Regions from separate parts of the Homo sapiens genome. Here region 1 is linked to region 2. The links are contacts of gene promoters, found by promoter capture Hi-C in blood cells and fetal thymus (Javierre and others, 2016). All regions are on one chromosome and are shown on one strand. The core of a region is centred on a gene start or on the middle of the fragment in contact, and the rest is flanking DNA. Distances in the headings are between cores, read along the strand shown. Region 1 holds the start of CEACAM7 (CEA cell adhesion molecule 7). Region 2 holds the start of CEACAM3 (CEA cell adhesion molecule 3).

What was found. The method cuts DNA at HindIII sites, captures the fragments that hold promoters and counts their contacts. A CHiCAGO score of 5 or more calls a contact.
Region 1: a contact is called between the fragment with the promoter of CEACAM7 here and the fragment with the promoter of CEACAM3 in region 2, in 4 of 17 cell types (megakaryocytes, endothelial precursors, activated CD4 T cells and 1 more). The highest score is 6.3, in megakaryocytes.

The regions. Positions count from the first base shown.
Region 1 is chr19:41,685,849-41,690,700 of GRCh38, reverse strand. CEACAM7 (CEA cell adhesion molecule 7) reads left to right here and starts at 2,431. Exons shown (of 5, transcript NM_001291485.2): 1 at 2,431-2,599; 2 at 3,480-3,842. The coding sequence starts at 2,536. The HindIII fragment of the contact is 5,666 bases long and covers 2,276-4,852 here.
Region 2 is chr19:41,793,830-41,798,537 of GRCh38, reverse strand. CEACAM3 (CEA cell adhesion molecule 3) reads right to left here and starts at 1,951. Exons shown (of 7, transcript NM_001815.5): 1 at 1,797-1,951; 2 at 590-949. The coding sequence starts at 1,860. The HindIII fragment of the contact is 3,675 bases long and covers 1-2,822 here.

The DNA of each region.
Region 1 (4,852 bases), core at 1,182-3,681, 110 kb after region 2:
AGGGTCCCTGGAGATGGGGGCTCCTGGCTGTGGTCTCTGGAGACCTCTAACCAGCCCAAGGAGACCTGGGGACCCAGGGGAACTTCCCCTGCAGGAGGACAGGATAACCCAGGATCTGCCTTTGTTTCCATCTCAGAGAGGCTAAGGGTCATAGGGCCTCCCCCTCCCATAACAGAGGAACCAGGAAACCCCTGCCTGAGTATCCAGGTGGGAAATGCCCCAGCTCCTGGGTCCTGCCAGGAGGCCTGGAGCAGACGACAGACAGGGACACAGATGACCTGGAGGCAGCACCCCCAGTGCTGTGATGGAGGAACACAGGGCTCTCTGGGGACCACCTCCTAGGCTGGTGTCCTCTCTCTGAAGCCCCCAGAGACACCTCTCTGGGTCCTACCTTTGAAACCTTGGGGACAGGTGGCTCCTTCTGAGGCAGCCTATCCCCCTGGTGGACAGTTCTCCAAATCTTGATTTGCTGTTCTCTGGACAACTCCTGTCCTCTCCTTGAGCTCATCCTGCACTGCATGGAGTTGGGCAGCCTGGGACTCTCCATGAGCAGGACCTGGGGTGACCTGATCCTGTAGCTTGGAGGTCACACCATGTGGACCCTCGTCAACATCCCTGGAACAGCCCCTGACTTTGACCACAGATCTCTTGCCTTCCAGGGGTGCACATCGCACACAGAGAACACTCAGGAAATTGCAGTTGATTCTCGAATAAGGCAGGGGTTAAGGGTGCTGAGGACCCCGTAGAAAATCTTTGTATAACTTTTGGCTTCCCAACAATTGAACCACTAAAACCCTACTCTTGACCAGAAGCCTTATTGTTAACATAAACGGTAAATCAATGTATTTTGCATGTTTATTTATATTATATACTGTACTCTTACAATAACATAAGCTGGGGAAAATAAAATGTTACTATGAAAATCATAAGGAAGATAAAACATATTTACTATTCATTAAGTGACAGTGGATCATCATAAAGGCTTTTATCCTTTTTTTGTCTCCAGGTTAAGTAGGCTGAGGAGGAGGAAAGGAGAGGGTGGTCTTGCTGTCTCAGAGATGGCAGAGGTAGAAGAGGTGGAGGGGAGGCAAGAGGAGGGGACACACTCAGTGCAACTTTTAATTTAAAACATCTGCATGTGGCTGGGCATGGCAGCTCATGCTTGTAATCTCAGCACTTTGGGAGGCTGAGGTGGGTGGATCATTTGAAGTCAGGAGTCTGAGACCAGCCTGGCCAACATGGTGAAACCCCGCCTCTACTAAAAATACAAAAATTAACCAGGCGTGGTGGCGGGTGCCTATAGTCCCAGCTACTTGGGAGGCTGAGGCAGGAGAATCACTTGAACCCGGGAGGTGGAGGTTGTAGTGAGCTGAGATCGTGCCACTGCACTCTAGCATGGGCAACAGAGTGAGACTCTGTCTCAGGAAAAAAAAAAAAGCAAAAAACAAACAAACAAAAAACAAAAAACAAAAATCAAACAAACAAACAAACAAACAAAAAAACATCGACATGTAAGTGGACCTGTGTGTTCAAATCTGTGTGTTCGAAGGTCAGCTGTAATTCCCCTGGACATGAACTTGGCCTTGCTAAGGTGGTGAAGGTGGAGCCTGGTTTCCATTCCTTGCTCCAACAGACCCTTCTTGTCTTTCACGCGTTCCTGCTGTGTCCCACCTCTTCCTTCCTGGGGCCTTTGAAGACCCCGCTCTGCCAGGGGTTTCTGTGCAGCTCCCCATTCCCTCCTGGCACCACCCATGGGGAAGGCGGGGTGACCACAGGACTGTCAGCCAGACAGAGGCTTCCAGGTCAGGTAGAACATGGAAAGGACCTGAGCCACAGCACATCCAAAAGACAGGGAGAGGGAGGGTTTCCTTGAAGCCTTCCCCAAGGACAGCAGAGCTCAGAGCCACACACCTCCCTCCACCACAGCTCTCTTCCCAGGACACACCAGACACCTCCCTCCACACCCAGGAGCTGTAGCTCCTCCTGAGACCCCTGGGCCTTGGTTTCTGTGCCTGGGTCACTGGAGACAGAGGGCTGGTCCCTCCCCAGTCATCCCCCAGTGAGCCCCTTTCTATCCCCCAGAGCCACCTCTGTCACCTTCCTGCTGGGCATCATCCCAGCAGAAACCCAAGGCCCAGCTGGGTTTCTCTGTCACAAGGGAAATAATCCCCCTGGTGTGACAGACCCAAGGCCAGAACACAGCATAGGTCAGCACTGGGAAAGGTTGGTTGTCCTCCCAGGGGACAGGGGTCCATCAGCCTTGCTACTCAAAGCTTTGTATCGGGAACTGAATATAGACAAAAGGGAAAGAGGAAGAGGGACAAAAGAGGCAGGAATGAGAGGGGAGGGGACAGAGGACTCCTGAGCAGAGACCCCACCCCTGGACCATGTGATCTTGGAAAGTGCTCCTGCCCTGGGAGGAGGCTCAGCACAGAGGTAGGAAGGACAGCAGAGCTGACAGTCACAGCAGCCCTGACAAGAGAGTTCCTGGAGCCCAAGCTCTTCTCCACAGAGGACAAGCAGGCAGCAGAGACCATGGGGTCCCCTTCAGCCTGTCCATACAGAGTGTGCATTCCCTGGCAGGGGCTCCTGCTCACAGGTGAGGGGAGGACTTCCTGGGAGTGGGTGGGAGGAGGGCCAGAGAGACTGGCTGGGGTCTCCTTGGGAGGACGGGGCTCTGAGAGGGGACAAAGGGCTTCTGTTGAAGTCCTTTGGGAGAGGACACCAGACAGGGACAGGAAACCAGAACAGGAAAATCACATTGGACTGGAATTGGAAAGGGTCAAGAAAATCTCACATGTTCTCTTTTCCTGGTTAATCATCACTAGCTGCTACATTTTGAAATATGATAATAATAACTATATCATGTGACGCTTCAAATAAAAACATAACCAGGGCATAAAACATTGTCCCTAGCCACCAACCTCAGGCATTGGAAAATAAACCCCAGGATGTGGAGGGAGGGCCCTGGGAACTCTCATGAACTCATCTACTGGAGCCTGCAGCCTGTTCCAGGCACTGGGGTGCAATCCAGTTCACACAAGTCCCTGCCCTCACAGAGCTCACGCTCTCATGCGGCAGAAGACAGACAGGCAAAGAGATCTAGAATGTGAAGCCAGGTGTTGACAAGAGCTCTAAAGGGAACAGAGCAGGGAAATGTCAGAAACGGAACACCCAGGGCTTCTAGAGAAGGTGTCAGGGAAGGGGTCTCCCAAGGATGCCCTGATGTAAGCAGGTCCAGCAGTATGGAGGGAGCCCTGCAGATCCCTGGGGAAGAGGATTCCGAACAGGGAAATGTAAGGTCAGAGGTGCTGATAGGGGACATGCTGCTGACATTGATCCAGTAGGACACACACACACACACACACACTTACTTCAAGATGGGGGTGGGTGAAGAGACCTGCTCAGGATCCAGGGCCCCATCTTTCCACCCCAATACATAGGTCCCAATATTGACTGATGTTCTCTCCCCCTCCTAGCCTCGCTTTTAACCTTCTGGAACCTGCCAAACAGTGCCCAGACCAATATTGATGTCGTGCCGTTCAATGTCGCAGAAGGGAAGGAGGTCCTTCTAGTAGTCCATAATGAGTCCCAGAATCTTTATGGCTACAACTGGTACAAAGGGGAAAGGGTGCATGCCAACTATCGAATTATAGGATATGTAAAAAATATAAGTCAAGAAAATGCCCCAGGGCCCGCACACAACGGTCGAGAGACAATATACCCCAATGGAACCCTGCTGATCCAGAACGTCACCCACAATGACGCAGGAATCTATACCCTACACGTTATAAAAGAAAATCTTGTGAATGAAGAAGTAACCAGACAATTCTACGTATTCTGTGAGTGATACCTCCATGACTTCTGGGTGCTGGGGGCCAGTTCTACTTCATACACACGGGGTTGTCAGGCCTGGGTTGTGCCTGTGTCCCCATCTACATTTTATCCAGTGTTGGAGTTTGGGCATTTAGTGAAGGACACACATGGGGGAGACAAACTTCTACAGACCAGAATCCCTTTCCTGCATCCAGACCCTGCAGATACTTGCTGCAGAGGAAGGACAGTCTGATGGGGGGCACTCAGCAGGGGGAGATCAGTCTCAGCCAAGATTCTGTGCCCTCCCCCTGAAAAAGACCCTGGAGAACTGGGTCAGAGCCTGGCCTGAGGAGTCCCCTGGAATCCTCACAGAGAAGCTCAGCCCTGGAAGCACAAGTCCCAGATCCCTGTCCCAGGGCTCTTGACTCCAGGTGACCCTAAGGAACCTGTGTCAGGGCTGGGTTGTGGCCTCCTGGGCTGAACTGACTGAGAGCAAGGATTTGAGCTGTTTGAGGATCATGGCTCATGGAGCTGGTCACCAGCCTGGTCACCCCCAGGGCCTCATCTGGGCAAGGACAGAGCCTCATCCTTCACCTGAGACTCAGCCTGGAGAGGACAGATGAACAGGATTACTAGGACCTCAGTCCCCCTGGATGAGGAACTTAAGAGAGGTCCTAGGGGAGTCAGTGTCCTCAGGGGGAGAAAAAGAAGAAGAAAGTTTCTGCTGTAAGTTCTTTGTACACCAGGAATCAGGTCCAAATAACCCACTCCTGGAGGCAAACAATCAGAGATCCTGCTTGTTTGGGCAGCTCTTCTACACAGGGCTCTCATCCAGGTAATTGTGATTATTTTAAGGTAAATTCACAGACAGCAAGGCAAGCCAGAGACCATTTACGCTTTATCTCATTTTGTTAAAGGAAACTGAGGCAGAAGGAAATACAGCCACTGAGGCAGGGTCTCACGGACCGGACAGTCACATCAGAGTCCCCAGGTCTTTGTAGCCACAGAGCTTGCTTCCTAGGCATCCAAGCCAGAA
Region 2 (4,708 bases), core at 702-3,201:
AGGCCCTGTCCTTGCCCAGGAGAGGTTCTTGGGGCTGGACCCTGGCTGGTGACCAACTCCAGGAGCCACGACCCTCAGACAGCTGGTAAATTCTTGCTCCCAGTCAGCCCTGCCCAGGAGGCCTCACTCAGCCCTGGCACAGGATCCCTAGGGTCCCCAGGGTCACCTGGAGTCAGGAATCTGGGACAGGGATTTGCACAGGGGCTCAGTTCTGGGAAGAGTTGAGCTTCTCTCTGAGAATCCTAGGGGGACCCCTCAGGCCAGGCCCTGATCCAGTTCTCCAGGGTCTTTCTTAGGGTCAGGTCCATGGGGAGACCATGGGGTTCTTTTCTGACACTGACCTTGCCCTGCTGAGTCCCCCCATCAGACTGTCCTTCCTCTGCAGCGAGTGTCTGCAGGGTCTGGATGCAGGAAAGGAATTCTGATCTGTGGAAGTTTGTCTCCCCCGTGTGTGTCCTGCACTAAATGTCCAAACCCTGATACAGAATGTAATGCAGAGAGGGCCACAGGCACAGCCCAGGCCTGACAATCCCATATGTGGGAAGTAGAACTGACCCCCAACACCCAGAGGTCATGTGGAAATACTCACGGTATACATGGAACTGTCCAGTTGCTTCTTCATTCACAAGATCTGACTTTATGACTTGTAGGGTGTAGAATCCTATGTCATTCTGGGTGACATTCTGGATCAGCAGGGATGCATTGGTGTATATTGTCTCTCGACCGCTGTATGCGGCCCCTGGGGTAGCTTGTTGAGTTCCTATTACATATCCTACAATTAGACTGTTGCCATCCACTCTTTCCCCTTTGTACCAGCTGTAGCCAAAAAGATGCTGGGGCAGATTGTGGACAAGTAGAAGCACCTCCTTCCCCTCTGCGACACTGAGCGGCATGGATTCAATAGTGAGCTTGGCAGTGGTGGGCGGGTTCCAGAAGTTTAGAAGTGAGGCTAGGAGGGAGAAAGCATCAGTCAATATTGGGACCCATGTATTGGGATGGAAAGATGGGGCCCTGGGTCCTGAGAGAGTCTCTTCACCCTTCAGCCTTGGAGAGTGTATGTGTGTCCCACTTGGTCAAGGTCAGTAACGTGACCTTTCTTTCTTCAGCACCTCTAACCTTGGCATTTTCCTGTGTGGAATCCCCTTCCCCAGGGGTCTGCATGGCTCCCTCCCCACTGCCCTCAGATCCTGCTCACATCAGGGCATCCTTGGGAGATCCCTCCCCTGACACCTCCTCTAGAGACCCTGGGTCTTCCCTTTCTGACCTTTTTCTGCTCTGTTCCCTCCAGGGCTCTTGTCAACACCTGAACTCACATTCTAGATCTCTTTGGGTGTCTATCTTCATCTCTGCAAGAGTGTAAGCTCTTTGAACACAGAGACTTGTCTGATATTTGTTGTACGCCAGTGCCTAAAATTTGATTGCAAATACTGGTGGATGAGTTAAGGAGTGGTGGTTATTTTGCAACTTGTGGTTGGTGGTCAAAGACAGGTTTTAGTGCCCTGGTTATATTTTTATTTAAAGTATCACCCTGATGTAATTCTTATTCTTATCATTTTCTAATTGTAGTGGCCAGTAATGATTAACTTGGAAAACATGATCAATGGATTTTCCTCCCTCTTATCAATCCCAGTTCAATGTGATTGTCTTGTTGTGACCCGTGTCCCTCTCTGATGTTCTCTCCCCTGAGGCTTCAGCAGAAGCCTTCTGTCCCCTATCAGAGCCCCATCCTCCCCAGGAGACCCCAGCCATTCTCTGTGATCCCTCCTCTTGCCCACTCCCAGGAATCCTCCACTCACCTGTGAGCAGAAGCCCCTGCCAGGGGATGCATTCTCTGTGGGGAGAGGCTGAGGGGGGCCCCATGGTCTCTGCTGCCTGCTCTTTCCTCCTCTGTGGAAAAGAGCCTGGGCTCCAGGAATGCTGTAGTCAGGGCTACTGTGACTTAGGCTCTGCTGTCCTTCCTCTTTCCATGCTGAGCCTCCTCCCAGGGCAGGAGCACTTTCCAGGGTCATGGGTGAAGCTCTGCCCAGGTCACCTCTCTGTCCCCTCCCCTCTCAGTTTTGCCTCATTTTCTCTTCTTCCTTTCTCCCTTCTGTCTACATTTGAGTTCCCCAGACCAGGCTCTGAGAAGCAAGGCTTACTTGGATCCCTGTTTCATAACAGGATGACCCTCCCTCCCCAGCGTGGACCTCTGCTCTGCCTTGGCCTTGGGTCTGTCAGCACCATGCAGAGTCCCTGGGGTCCCTGAACCTGGTGTTATTTTCTCTGTGACGGAGAAACTCCTTTGTGTGTGCAGGGTCTTCTTACTGTTCTCACATGTCTGGGAAGGTTGGATTTACTCCCAGCAAGGAGGTCACAGAGATGTCTGGGGTCCTACAAATGGATATATCTAGGGCTAAAGCCCGGATCTAAGATTCTGAGCTGTTCTTTCTGCAGCATTATGTGACTCTAATTTCCTGGGAGTAACTGAGAATGAGGCTTCACAGTGCTGTAGCTTTATGTCATCCAGACACCAGACATTTCTAGGCTGACTTTATGATTTTCTCTCTAGCTTGTACCACCTTTATTATTATATATTTCATCCTTTTTTCTAAATAAATTTAGTTTACAAAACATCCTGTCCTAGCAGGGATCGGTGGCTCAGATCTGTGATCCCAGCTACTCGAGAGGCTATGGTGGGAGGATGGCTTGAGGCCAGGAGTTGGAGACAAAACATCCTTGTCTTATGCAATATTGTCCATGAAATTACAGATTTGATGTGTGCTTAAATGTTTTCTCAATGTATATTAAAATAAACGCATAAGTATTAAAGTTTTTAAAAAGCTTACTTACGTTTCGCCTAAAATCAGTTTTTGGAAATGCTGACACAGTGGCATAAACATGAACTTTATGTCCAGATGTACCTGGGGACAGCTAATGGTTCTGTCACTTAACTATGTTGACTTGGACAAGTCACGTGGCTTCTATGATCCTTGATTCCCTGATTTGTAAAAGGAGGATGGTAAAATCCTCCTTGCAGAGTTGTTGGGAATAAGTGAGCTGCTGTGGGAGCCCCGTGCCCAGGCGGGTGTTGAGTACATGGTGGTTGTCATCGTGGTTATTGCTGTGGAATTCTGGTTTTCAAAGAGTGTCTACGCCGGAATATTGGGCTTGTGGCTTTCTGCTGATGTGGATGTGTGAAAAAGCTACTTTTGCTTGTTAGAACTTGTGGTGCATCTGTCATTATTTTCATTTCCCAGTTCCACTACCTATTTTCTCTGTGATGTTGGTCAAGTTGCCTAACTTTTCTGTGCCTCATTTACCTAATTTGTGAAATGTGGGTAACAGTACACTAGTGTGGGTGTGTTATTTCCCAGCTCTGACCACTAGAGGGCATAGAAGCACCGGCACCTACTAGCAATGGGCATATGGGCGCCCATGGTCTGTAAACATCATTCTCCCATGAAAGGAACCAGGGTTCCCTGGAGAAATGGCTGATTCCAGGGCTGGGGCAGGAAACCACAAGAGGAGACTGGAGCATCTTGCGGGGCCTGAGAGTAAGGCACAACTTGAAAAATGATGGGGATGTGTGGAAAGTATCACAAATGCCAACTAGAAGAAGCTCCCAATGGCCAATTTGGGGACAATATAGCAACATAATCAATAATAATAGTAATGTAGTCCAACCGATAAATACTTGAGAGTCCATGCTGATATATATATAAATAAGTGAATACATAAATAAATGAGAAAGAAGAACTAGCTCTTTCTTACAGCAGCGTTCCAGTTAATCAGTGTAGAAGCAATGATGGAAGCAGAAAATCACTGGCTAACACCACAGTAAGAATTGTTTATCGGCTACAATTATCTCTGGATTCTAGAAATTAATTGGTAAAAGTATGCTAAGAACAAACTGGCTATTTGCATATTTCCAAAGTACCTGTCCACAAGATACTTATTAATTACAATGAGATGAATAGTAACTTCACAGTAGAGAAACCTGGCAGACACCACCTGAACCAAGCGCTTAAAGTGAACCTCATCGGTAATGAGAGATATAGACATCCTGGGGCTCCGGCTGGGATGTCCTGAGAAAGACACATCGCTTCTGTGCTAATCTTGCCCAAAATGCATAACCTGAAACATCCCAAGGAAACATGAGACAAACCCAAATTGAGGGGCATTCTACAAAACAACTGACCAGACCTCCTCAAAAGCATCAAGGTCCTGAGAGAGGGAAAGAGTGGGAAACTCCCCCAGGTTGGAGGAGGCCTAGGAAATGTGACAGTGTTATTCAGTGTGGGATCCTGGGTTGGACTCTGGAGCAGAAAAAAGACATGACTGGGATGATTAGCAAAATTTTAATATTTCTTTTTTTTTTTTTTGGAGACAGAGTCTCACTCTGTCGCCAAGGCTGGAGTGCAGTGGCTCGATCTGGGCTCACTGCAACCCCCACCTCCTGAGTTCAAGAGATTCTCCTGCTTCAGCCTCCCGAGTAGCTGGGATTACAGGTACCTGCCACCACGCCTGGCTAATTTTTGTATTTTTAGTAGAGACGGGGTTTCATCGTGTTAGCCAGGATGGTCTCGATCTCCTCACCTCGTGATCTACCCTCCTTGGCCTCCCAAAGTACTGGGATTAAAGGCGTGAGCCACCGTGCCCGGCCCCATATTTCTATATTTTAAAATTTTTTGTATCAATGCTAGGTGACTGATTTTGATAATTGCTTTAG